Regions from separate parts of the Homo sapiens genome. Here region 2 is linked to region 1. The links are contacts of gene promoters, found by promoter capture Hi-C in human tissues and cell types (Jung and others, 2019). All regions are on one chromosome and are shown on one strand. The core of a region is centred on a gene start or on the middle of the fragment in contact, and the rest is flanking DNA. Distances in the headings are between cores, read along the strand shown. Region 1 holds the start of PPIH (peptidylprolyl isomerase H). Region 2 overlaps HIVEP3 (HIVEP zinc finger 3).

What was found. The method cuts DNA at HindIII sites, captures the fragments that hold promoters and counts their contacts. A contact is called where the count stands out against the background at its distance.
Region 2: a contact is called between a fragment that was not itself captured here and the fragment with the promoter of PPIH in region 1, in 1 of the 25 tissues and cell types used here (dorsolateral prefrontal cortex).

The regions. Positions count from the first base shown.
Region 1 is chr1:42,655,759-42,661,822 of GRCh38, forward strand. It overlaps PPIH (peptidylprolyl isomerase H), which reads left to right and starts at 2,665. Exons shown (of 10, transcript NM_006347.4): 1 at 2,665-2,754; 2 at 3,086-3,150; 3 at 3,470-3,493; 4 at 3,764-3,808; 5 at 5,104-5,146. The coding sequence starts at 2,689. CCDC30 (coiled-coil domain containing 30) reads left to right here. Exons shown (of 21, transcript NM_001395517.1): 21 at 1-1,432. All of the region lies in intron 1 of LOC124904162 (a long non-coding RNA gene), which reads right to left. The HindIII fragment of the contact is 7,698 bases long and covers 1-5,665 here.
Region 2 is chr1:41,592,813-41,598,794 of GRCh38, forward strand. The region is part of intron 3 of HIVEP3 (HIVEP zinc finger 3); the gene reads right to left. The region is part of intron 1 of LOC128125817; the gene reads right to left. Among named protein-coding and RNA genes, the nearest start is that of EDN2, 110 kb to the left of the region's middle. The HindIII fragment of the contact is 3,806 bases long and covers 1,438-5,243 here.

The DNA of each region.
Region 1 (6,064 bases), core at 1,415-3,914:
TCACATCCATTTCATCTATCAGGGTGGAACAGTACTGCTCAGTATCTCTGAGGATGTGGATGTTCTATAAATTAAACGTTCTCTTGTTTGGCATTTAAGCTGTTTTTACTTTTTTTTTTTTTTTTTTTTTTTTGAGACAGGGTCTCACTTTGTAACCCAGGCTGGAGTGCAGTGGTTTGATTACTGCTCATGCAGCCTCAACCTCCCATGCTTAAGTGATCCTCTCTCCTCAGCCTCTCCCAAGTACAGGCATGTGCTACCATGCCTGGCTCATTTTTGTACTTTTTGTAAAGACGAGGTCTCACTCTCACTCTATTGTTCAAGCTGGTCTCAAATTTCTGGGCTCAAGTGATCCTCCCACCTAAGCCTCCTAGGTGATAGGATTATAGGATGAGCCTCTATGCCAGGCCTGGTTTTACTTTGTTACTATTTAAGATTATGCTGTGTTGAAGGTCTTTGTGCATGTAGTTCTTTTCTTCTTTTGAATTACTCCAGAAAACAAATTCGCAAGATTGGACTGAGTCAAAGGATATAAATGTTAATATTGCTCTAGGACATCACTTCCTTTGCTTTAAAAAAGGGTTCTGCCTGACCAGGTGCGGTGGCTCACGCCTATAATCCCAGCATTTTGGGAGGCCGAGGCAGGTGGATCACTTGAGGCCAGGAGTTCAAGACCAGCCAGGCCAACATGGCAAAGCCCTGTCTCTACTAAAAATACAAAAATTAGCCGGGTATGGTGGTGCACACCTGTAGTCCCTGCTATGCGGGAGGCTGAGGCTCGAGAATCACCTGAACCCAAGAGGTAGAAGTTTCAGTGAGCTGAGACCACTCCACTGTACTCCAGCCTGGGCAAAAAGTGAGACTCTGTCTCAAAAAATAATAATAATAAATACATAAATAATAAAATAAATAAAAAGTGTGTCAACATACTGTTTTCATAGTCAAGTTACTCAACCTCCTTGAGCCTCAATTTCTTGATTCCTAAAATGGGAACAATAATAGTTCTCTATCCCATAGGGTTGTGAGGACCAAATGAAATGAAGCATGTAAAGTATTTAGCACGTAGTAACTGCTTAATAAATGCTATCATCATTTATTTTCACTAGAGGTTTATCAATGTACTATTTTTTTCACAACCTCATCAACATTGGATATTATCAATTTTAAAGATTTATTCTAAAACAGTTGGTATAAAATTATACTGAAGCGTGACTGCTGCTGTTCCTTTTCCCCCTCCTCCCCTTTCTTCTTTTTCAGTTGGAGGAGACCAAGAGGAGAGGATCAGTAACCAGAAATAAAAATGACCCTTTACATTGAGACACACTGTATTTTTATATGTAATCCTTGCTTTCTCAGACAACAGAGCTAGAAAGATGATCATAGGAACTAGGAAATAATAACTATTTTATTAAATGCATGCTGTTATATTGAATGAGCCTTGCCCAAGGTCCCCTTCTTTCACTAAATTCATTGCATCTATTATTTATTGAATACCTACTATATGCTATTCAGTAGGCGACATTGCAGCTACAGCTGCGAATAGGACCAGGAGAGTCTCTACTTTCATGGAGTTTATATGCTATCAGGGAGGAAGATTATGTGTGTGTGGCAGGAAATGAGGTGTAGACACATACCATACGAAGATAATGTGGAAGTGGGGGTGGCATGAAGAAAACAAACCAGTGATCTGAATGACCAAGGGCTACTTTAGATTAGGTCTAATGTTGCCTCTCAGGAGGTAACATCTGGGGTGAGCCCTGAACTACAAGGAGCATTACTTCCCACACGCATACCCCAACCAACCCCCACAATCCCCCGCCAACCCACATTAAGTTCTGGAAGGAATATTTCAGACAGAAGTAACAGCTATTACAAAGCCCTAAAGAGAGGAGGGATCTCAGTGACCTGGAGGAACAGACAGGTCAGAGCACAGTAACTAAGGGCAAGTGGTACAAGATGAGGTCAGGTACGTGATAGCCAGATAAATGCACTGTAGGGCTTCGTATGCACGGAATTGGATTTTATTCTAAATATGGGAAGCCAGGAGTTATTTTTAAAATAAATAGGAAGCACAAGAGTTATTTTAAAAATAAAAAATAAAAAACTCTAGTTGCTTTATGGGAAATGAATTGGAAATGACAAAACTGGTAGCTTTTGTGGCAGAACAAACATTATCTATTGTCCTGACTTAGAGGAAGGGATATTTACTTAGCAAGCCTGTACGTGCCAAGCTGTTCTAAACGCTGAGGATGAACAAACCAGAGTTCCTGCCTTCACGGTGTTCACACTAGCGGGCAGAAGACAGACAGCACGTGTGGCGGTGCAGAGGGCTTGGCTGCAAGAGCCGATAAGGAGGACCCTGGCGACTGCCTAGTCCAAAAGTCCTAGCTAGAGCAAGATCAACTTGTACTGCCCTTAGTACAGCCACGTGAGTGGGGTGACCATTGACCTTAACCAAAAAGATGTCAAGGCTTTCCTCCTCCTCACTCCCGCGTCCCCAGTGCCAGGCAGAGTCTCTCAGCTAGACCCTAGCAGTCTCAGCACACACCGCACGGGGCGACAGCTTCCGGGGGCGGAGCCTGGTCTCGCTCCACGTCTACCGCGCCTGCTCCCCGGACGAAATCCGCGGACCGGGCTTTAGGTTCGCCGGAATCCCACGCTCCCGACTTCTGCTTCCGGGTCGGAGCCATGGCGGTGGCAAATTCAAGTCCTGTTAACCCCGTGGTGTTCTTTGATGTCAGTATTGGCGGTCAGGTGAGATCCAGGAGGCTGCCCACACCTGCGCCGAAGGGAAACTGCTCGGGGCTAGGCAGGCAGAACTCACCCAGAGAGAGCGGACTCGGGAAGCCAGCCAGAAAGTGAAATTGCACCCGAACCTACCGACCTGCCGGGCGGGGGGAAAGGAGGAGGAGGAGTCTCCCCAATCCTAGCGCCCCGCTTCTGGAGGAACTGGGCGGTTAGACTAGGGAGGCGGAGGTGGGAGATACCGAGCGGCAGGGTGGTGGGTCAGCCCATCATGCCCCCTGCTCCGTGAAGCCCTCATGGTCTTGGACTGGGCCTTCTGACACTCTCCCGCTGATTGCAGGAAGTTGGCCGCATGAAGATCGAGCTCTTTGCAGACGTTGTGCCTAAGACGGCCGAGAACTTTAGGTAAGGACGTGCTCCAGCTCCGCTGGATTAGCTGAGGCAGAAGTCGGGCTCCAGTCAGCCGCCTGAAATAGCCTGTCTACCTCTGTCCGTCCGCTCACTGCTCTTGAGACCTGATTCCTCCATGCATTGCTCTGTCTGGTTGCCGTTTGGATTGTTCCCGTGTTAATTTACGTTGTTAGTCTGTGTGACTGCGTGTCTGGACGTCTGGCTGGCCGATTGGTGGACTTGCTGGCTCCAGTGTTTATTCTTTCCCGTATTTAGAGGCGCTCACGACTGTGACATCATAGTGATTGAATCATTCATTTTTTGTCCCTTTCAGGCAGTTCTGCACCGGAGAATTCAGGTCAGTTTCAGATGTGTTTGACTTCTTTGCCTGCTCCAGAGGGGTGTTCTGGGGCTGCAGTGAGGGTATCGGTGAACCACCTGCTGGCCTTGAATGATTGCTGGTGACAGTGATAGAAGGTAATGCCCCAAGGGTCTGTCCCTAGTTTATTTGCCTTCTTTATGTCTGTCAACCATCTTTAGGAGAGTCCTTTTGGCTCCAGTGCATGGTAAACTGGAAAGGCCTTGTGCTACCTGCTGTCACTCCAAGTCTCTTTCTTTTCGGTTATAGGAAAGATGGGGTTCCAATAGGATACAAAGGAAGCACCTTCCACAGGTAAGGCTCTTGGCAAGCCATCCTGGAGTCTTTCAGAAATATTTCCTGGGGGATTAGGCTCTTTAGAGGAAAATAAAACCAGAGGGTAATTCTTACATTTCTTGAGAAGAAATGTTTTTGTGGACTCAACAACTGAAGATTTATTAAATGTTCTAACTCTACTTACACTCCCCCACTTCTTAGGTCTTTAAAACAGAAACTACTCATCTTTACAATATCTTGTCTTTTTCATGCACTTGTTTGTGCGAATGCAGATTTTTTAAAAAGTACACTTGTAATCCTAAAGTGCATATAATATATCCTGCTGGTTGATATTTATAACTAATTCCTAAAATGATCATATATGATTGTCCAAGGATAATCATATTTCCTGGGGAGTGGAGTATGTCAACACTTAGTCTCATTTCAATATAGAATCTTTCTCATGGCCTCACTGTGGTTAGTAACAATGTTAGCACATAATTATATCACAGCTTTAGAGCTTTGGGTCTCTAATCCCCAGTAAGACTCCTGTGAAGTGGTATGGGTGATCTGCATTCTACAGAGGAGGAAACTGAGGATAAGAAAGGTTAAGGACCCTCCCTAGGGGTAATAGCTAACAGTTGTTAAGCCCTTACATGTTTAGCAGTACATTTCACATAAATTCTCTGTAGTTCTTTCCCCCAAATTTACATCAAACCCTTGCTCTGCCTTTTGCTTTGGCAAGTAAGCTTTCAGCCCCTTCTTCTTATTACTGTTCAGGTACCAGATCATGCACTTGATCAACTCTAACATGCCCTAATTTATAACGAAAATCCTTTTTTATGGTTAATTATCCTTTCAGCTTAATCATTCAGGAAAAGAATAATCTTCAGGTTTTTTTTGTTTTGTTTTGTTTTTTTGAGACAGAGTCCCACTCTGTCGCCCAGGCTAAAGTGCAGTGGCATGATCTTGGCTCACTGCAACCTCCGCCTCCTGGGTTCAAGCAATTCTTCTGCCTCAGCCTCCCGAGTAGCCAGGACTACAGGCATGTGCCACCACGCTCGGCTAATTTTTGTATTTTTAGTAGAGACGGGGTTTTGCCATGTTGGCCAGGCTGGTCTCAAACTCCTGGCCTCATGTGATCTGCCTGCCTCGGCCTCCCAAACTGCTGGGATTACAGGCGTGAGCTACCGCACCCAGCTAAGAGTAATGATTTTATAATAGCCAAAGTGATAGTGTATTTTGAAATCAACGTTAATCTAATACAATAATAACAACATCTATGTTTTTCTAAACCATAAAATCTTCTCAGTATTCTTTGCTCTCTGTTTCAGGGTCATAAAGGATTTCATGATTCAGGGTGGAGATTTTGTTAATGTAAGTACTATTCCTTTCCTATCAAAGACCCGTAGTTTTAGTTTTTGTTGTTATTGTTGCAATTGCTGTTTTTACTACAGAGACCCAGTCTTCAGGCTTGAGAACAATAGCCAGGTTTGATGTGGGTGTTGGAGAGAATGGTGATGGGGAAGTTCTTGAAAGTGGCTGGGTACGACTGACTGTAGATAACCGACTTTAGCACTTTGATTGAGGCATTAAATTCCATGGTCCAAATCTCAGCCTTTTTGAGCCAGAAATTGGACTTTTTAAGAATACCTATAGATGATCTATGATAGGTTCACACTAATTAGTCATATGAAACTTAGTCAGAAATCAGCTGTGGTTTTTGTTTTTTTCTGAATGGAGGTAAGTCTCCTTCTAGTGGGCTAAATGCTTGTTTCATTTTCTCTTTTACTTCTGGGTGTCACAGTGCCTGGAAAGCTGAGTTTTTCATAAGAAGTTGATTTGTGGGCAAGGAATCAGAGCAAGAGAGGTAGATAGTTCTGGAGGAATTTTGCTCTATTCACTGAGAGAGCCCAGTGAAATAGTTCTTTTTTGCTAACCATAGCTTTCTTGTAAGTAGACTGTTTTTGTCCCCCATATGAAGCCTCCCTCCCCACCCCAACCTTGGAGGGTGTGGGATAAACTACATTTTTTCTTTCTTAAACCTGCTTTTGTCCTTACCCCCCACTTCTGAATGGTCTTTCTTTACTCTTATTAATATCATTTGGTTAGTTGTGTTGCTGTTTTCTTGGATCTGGGAGACATGTGTTCTCTTTTATGTGTTTATTTAGTCTGAATCTCATGAGTTTTTAAGACCTCTTTCCTTTCCTATGCAATACAGGGTTGCAGAGTGGCAGGTTTTAGGCCGAATTACGTTTTTACCTATGTTTTGATTCATCTGCATGGTGTTGTATA
Region 2 (5,982 bases), core at 2,091-4,590, 1.1 Mb before region 1:
ACCTACCAGCAATCAGGGGGTTCTGTGCAGAGAAAACTACCCCTGCCCAGGGATCCGCATGTATCCCAGCAAGCAGCCCAGGCCTCCTGGACACCGGCTTCTGCCAGTCTAGGCCCTGGCCAGGTCCTGACCTGCTGACCCTCTCTTGGGCTGTCACCACCTCCACCCCTGTCCCCAGCCATGTCATCAATCCCCAAATCTGGTTGTTTCTGTCCCCTGCCTCTCCTTTGGGCTTGGGTTCCTACCCCTAGTTTTGTCGAGACCAGAAGTTCCAAAGACCAACGACAGAACAGAAATGCTGGGGAACTTTCTCCTTCTTTTAAACGAAAATTCTTAAATGAAAAATTACTTGAAAAATTTTAAACCACTGCAGAATTGTACCATCCTTGGCTCTTTCCCCTGAATCTCCCTGTCCCCACATGCCCCTCCCCAGAGAAGCTACAGTTAATTTAATATATGTTCTTCCCGACGTCCTAATGTATTTATATTGATCTGCGACTTGTTTTTTTTCTTTTTTTAAATCTATGTATGGATATCTAGGTTTACCTCTTTCTTTTTGCGGGCAGCAGCACTGTATTCCATTTTTGGCTGTACTCAAACTCAGCCAGTCCCTTACTGATAGATATGAAGGTTGTTTCCAGCTGTTTCTATTCCAAGAAATGCTACATAGAATATCTTCTGCATACTTGTATGAGTATATCACAGGCTAACCTCCTAGAAGGGAGAATACTTGATTAAAGGGGATACACCTTGAAGCTTTTCATGGGGACTGGCAAATAGCTCTTCAAAAAGCAGAAATTTACACTTCCGCCAATGGCGGGTGAGCACTATTTCCCTAACCTCCTGCCTATCTGGAATATAAACTGTCTCTTTAACATTAGCTAATAAGAAAGGCAAAATGGTTGTATTTGGTTCCCATTGCTGCTGTAAGAAATTACCACAAATTTAGTGGCTTAATGCAAAATTTACTATCTTATAGTTCGAGTGGTCAGACGTCTGAAATAGGTCTCACTCGGCTAAAAGCAAGGTGTCAGCAGGGCCACTTTTCTTTCTGGGGGCCCTAGAGGAGAATCCCTTTCCTTGCCTTTCCCAACTTCTAGAGGGTACCTGAATTCCTTGGCTCATGGAAGGCTCCCCTTCCACCTGCAAAGCTGGTAACAGCCAGCCGCATCTTTCTCATAACAAATCATTCTAATATTGACTCCTCTCTCCCTCTCCTAAGGACTCTTGTGATTACATTGAGTCCACCTGGATAATCTCTCCACCTCAAGATCCTTAATTAAATCACATCTACAAATTATCTTTTGCCATAATGGGCAACATATTCAGTTTCCAGGGTTTAGAATGTGGATAGTTTGGGGGTCCATTATTTTGCCTACCACAAAGATATCTTACGTTTCAGTTATAATTATTTTATTATTATTTTTTGAAATGGAGTCTCGCTCTGTTGCCCAGGATGGAGTGCAGTGACTTGATCTCAGCTCATTCCAACCTCTGCCTCCTGGGTTCATGCAATTCTCCTGCCTCAGCCTCCTGAGTAGCTGGGATTACAGGCGTGCACCACCACACCCAGATAATTTTCGTATTTTTAGTAGAGATGGGGTTTCACCATGGCGGCCAGACTGGTCTTGAACTCCTGACCTCAAGTGATCCCCTGCCTCAGCCTCCCGAAGTGCTGGGATTACAGGTGTGAGCCACCCCGCCTGGCCGATATCTTATGTTTTAAAACCTGTTTCTTGATCTCTAGAGAGGCTTAGCATTTTTGCATAAACATATTCAGTTATTTCATTTGGGAGACTATTTTTCTGGTTTACATAAACTCTTTTGATATTGAAGCTATTGATCCTTTACATATAGGTTGCAGATATCTTCTCTTTATCATTAGTCTTAGCTGTACAGAATTTTTTTTTGTTTCCATGTGGTTAAATGTACCATTAATTTTTCCCTTTATGACTTTTAGGTTTCACATCCAATATTACTTTTTAGAATGTCACCCAAATTTTCTTCTAGTTCCATTATGATTTATTTTTTCCCTCCTTTCCTCTCTTCTTTCCTTTCCATTGTCACCTTGGCTCCATCTGGCACTTATTTGTGTGTAAGGAGTGAGGTAAAGATAAAGCTTAAGTTTTTTTACTCCCTAGCTAGCCAGTTGTCCCAACAGCATTATTGAATAGTCCACCTCCCCACCTCTGAAATGTCTGTGGTGTCTGATAAAAGCACAGGTTCTAGCCCTATTCCAAATCCACTGAAATAGAATTTGTGGGAAAGGGACCCAGAATCTATATTTTTGCTAATTCCCCATGTGAATATTGTAAATCTGGCATATACTTTTCTACTGGCATTTGGGGAAGCTGATGAAATTCCTCCAACTGCCTCCTAATCACCTTGCTTCCAGGTTTCTAGCCTTCTCCCAGTCCACCCCACTCCACTATTCATTGTGGAAAGAGAAATCTCTTCAGTTGCCAAGCTCACCAGACCTCTCCCCTTGTCAGTAATTCTCAGTAGCTCCCCAATGCAGAGAGATTCAGCCATTGGCGTTTCAGTCCTGTCAAAATAGGGCCCACCCAGTCTTCCTGGCCTCCTCTCTCTCCATCCTGCTCTTACACTTTGAACTCTCTGCCTTTACACATTGTTGTTCCTGGTGGGACATGCCGAGAAAGGAGTCTGGAGACTAATTCCACAGAGGAGTCAGCATACCCTTGTTTGAGCTGGGTTTTGAACTATGGGAAGATGTTGATGGTGAGATTTGCAAGAAAGAGACTCTAGGTGGGAGGCTTGTGATGATTAATATCGAATGTCAACTTGATTGGATTGAAGGATGAAGAGGGTGTTGCCAAAGGAGATTAACATTTGAGTCAGTGGACTGGGAAAGGCAGACCCACCCTCAATCTGGGTGGGCACCATCTAATCAGCTGCCAGTGTGTCCAGGATAAAAGCAGGTAGAAGAACATGAAAAGACTAGACTGGCTTAGCCTCCTGGCCTACATCTTTCTCCTGCACTGGATGCTTCCTGCCCTCAAACATTGGACGCCAAGTTCTTCAGCTTTGGGACTCAGACTGGCTTCCTTGCTTGCAGACGGCCTATTGTGGGACCTCACCTTGTGATTGTGTGAGTCAATACTCCTCAATAAACTCCCCTTTATGTATACATCTATCCTAGTAGTTCTGTCCCTCTAGAGAACCCTGACTAATACAAGGTTCAATGTACGCAAAGCACAGGGGGCTGGAATGTGGCCACAGGAAATGTTTCAGGGCTCCAGGCAGGAGCCCCACGATGTGCTGGGATGGCTTCTGGACACTGGGAGGTGTTTCCACACGTCCCCTCCTAGGCCCCAGAATGACGAGATAAAGTCCCAAACTGTGAAGCCTCATTATGTCAAGCAGATCTTCTAACAGAGCTGTGGTCAGTGACTGCCCTCTGAAAGCAGGTGGAAGGCACAACTGGGTCCCCATGGGGTGGGCAAGGGCGCACTGCTGCTGCTGGGCTGGGCCATGCTTCCAGGGTGACCAGCCCCTCATACCCTCTGACCTGGATTCATTCATGGAAAACAGGCACAACCTAGAGTCCATAGATAGCCTGTGTTGGAAGGAAGAGGTTTTTTGCTAATCCAATGGGTCAAACAGTGCTGTTCCCCCAAGAAGCCTGGGATGTCTGCCTTGAGCCAGGCCTGTGGCTTAACCAGTTCATCAGTGTCTTCCAGGTGAACCTGCCTCCCCCTGGCCTGGGCAGGAACTAGGCTCCATTCAGATTTGCATTTCCAGTGCCTGATACAGAACTCCACACTCAGTAAAATATTAAAAATATTTAAAAACACTTAACTGACCACCTACCATGCCCAAACAAAACAAACATATTGATTCTTACACATCCCCTTTTTATAGATGGGGGCAGGGCTGAGGCTAATTGCTTCAGATCAGACACAAAAAGGCAAAGGCAGGATTTGAACCCTGAGTGCTGGCCAACATCCAGGAAACCCCCAAGGGCCCTGATCTTGGTCAGAATGACCGAGTGGATCCTACCTTCCTTCCCTGTATCTGAGATCCTCCAGGAAGTCTTCCCTGGTTAACTGCAGCCACCTACATACACTTGCATCAAAGTCCTCCCTGCATGCAAGTCACTCTGCATGACCATGTTAACCTTAGGGCTGAGTTTCTTGTTAACTGCTTTTTCCCTCAATAATGAATGGTGGATTTTTCACTGTCTGGGAGGCTCTTAAATCATTTCCCTTGGATGACTGGTCTCTGTGTTCCTACTTTTCCTTCTCCTCCTCCCTCCCAACTCCAAGACCTAAACAGGGCTTGGAATTTCTGCACACTGGTCAAAAAGCAAATTCTATCGAAAGCAAACAGAAGCCTAGGCAATCCTAGACGAGTTAGACCCGGCTGGTATTTGTCTTCCTGTTAGAGAGCTCAGGGATCCAGGTGAAACTGATATCACCAAGGAGAATGAAGTCTCCTGTGACATCCCCATAGAAAGCAAAAACACATTTCACAGTCAAGATCAAGCAATGATGTAGCAAAAACTCTACTCTGCCAGACTTGCAGAGGCCCAGATTTCCCCTGATTGTCTGTGGGCATAATAATTCAGAGGAAGATCATCTAAACCAATGTCCTGTGCCTAGACGGAGCAAATGAACTCTGACTATGTGCCAGGGCTGTTCTTAGTATGTTACGCAAATTCACTCATTTATTCCTCACAATGACCCTTCAGGCGGGTACTATTATCATTCCCATTTTACAGGTGAGGAAACTGAGGCCCAAAATCACAAAACTGATAAGTAGCAGAGACAGAACCTGAACTTGGACCATCAGGTGACTCCTGCAGTGGTGACCCTCAAGGCAGCCAGGCCACACCAGCCTCACAGAGAGGACACAGATTTGAATCACAGTCCTGACACTGCAGGTAACCAAACACTGTTTTTAGCAGCCTTCCTTTCCTTCATAAGGGCTAAGCTTGTTAACCTTTTTTTACCTTTCTCCTGGAAAAGTATCGACAGTGTTTAAGCCTTGCTTCCATTGAGACCAAAAATGAACTGACATTAGCTGCTACAGCCTTACCTCACCTACACACATCTACAAACAAGGCCCAGATGCTTGTAGCTAATTCACCTACTAAGTTATCTAATGTAATGTACATAGCTAGCTATCCACCTACCTATCTCATTGTTTATTTATATCCGATTTTTCCCATGAGGATTAAAAGAGGCATCTGGACACCCATGAGAACTCAGTGGGCATCTATGAACTTAACTCAACCTGTTTATCTTAAATGGTCCAGGAAGTGCTTGTGGGTGAAAGAGCTTAGGGAAGAACAAAGCCTGAAATGAGAGTTGCGCAGGCCCAGCAGGCTTGTCTTCTGGCCATTTGTGTCCAGCCAGTCTCTCATCAACACCGCCTAAGAGAGACCCAAATTCCACATTTGCTGCAGTGGCCTGATCTCTTGTCAGTTTCTGGCAGGTCTCTAGTGGTTCCTTTGATGGCATTTTGTTTCTATACACGTGACTGTGGCACAAAAGGCACACCTACCTACAAGCTTCCTAGGTAGTTAAGGTTCTTGTGTCTACTATGGAGAGCAATACATAGAATACACAATAATATATACACACACACACTATAAGATGAACCACAGAAGAAAAAATGACTGGGAGACTGGGTGACATACAGAGTGTAGTCCAACAGAAGAGGTGGCGACTGCCTGTGGCTTCTGTCATTCTTGCCCACATGGCAGGATAGATATAACTGTATAGTAATGATAAAGCAGTTATAACGATCACTCTACTGCAACTCATTTCTTCATTTCTCCACTCAGTCTGCAAGTACTACGTGGGCCTTCTCAATGCCAGGCCAGTAAGATGAAAACAGACATAAATCATAGGCCTTACTATAAGCTACAGTAATCAAGACAGTATAGTATCGATACAAAGAGACACAAGAAGATCAATGGAAACAGAGTAGGGTAAGGAAACATACTCCCACACATAC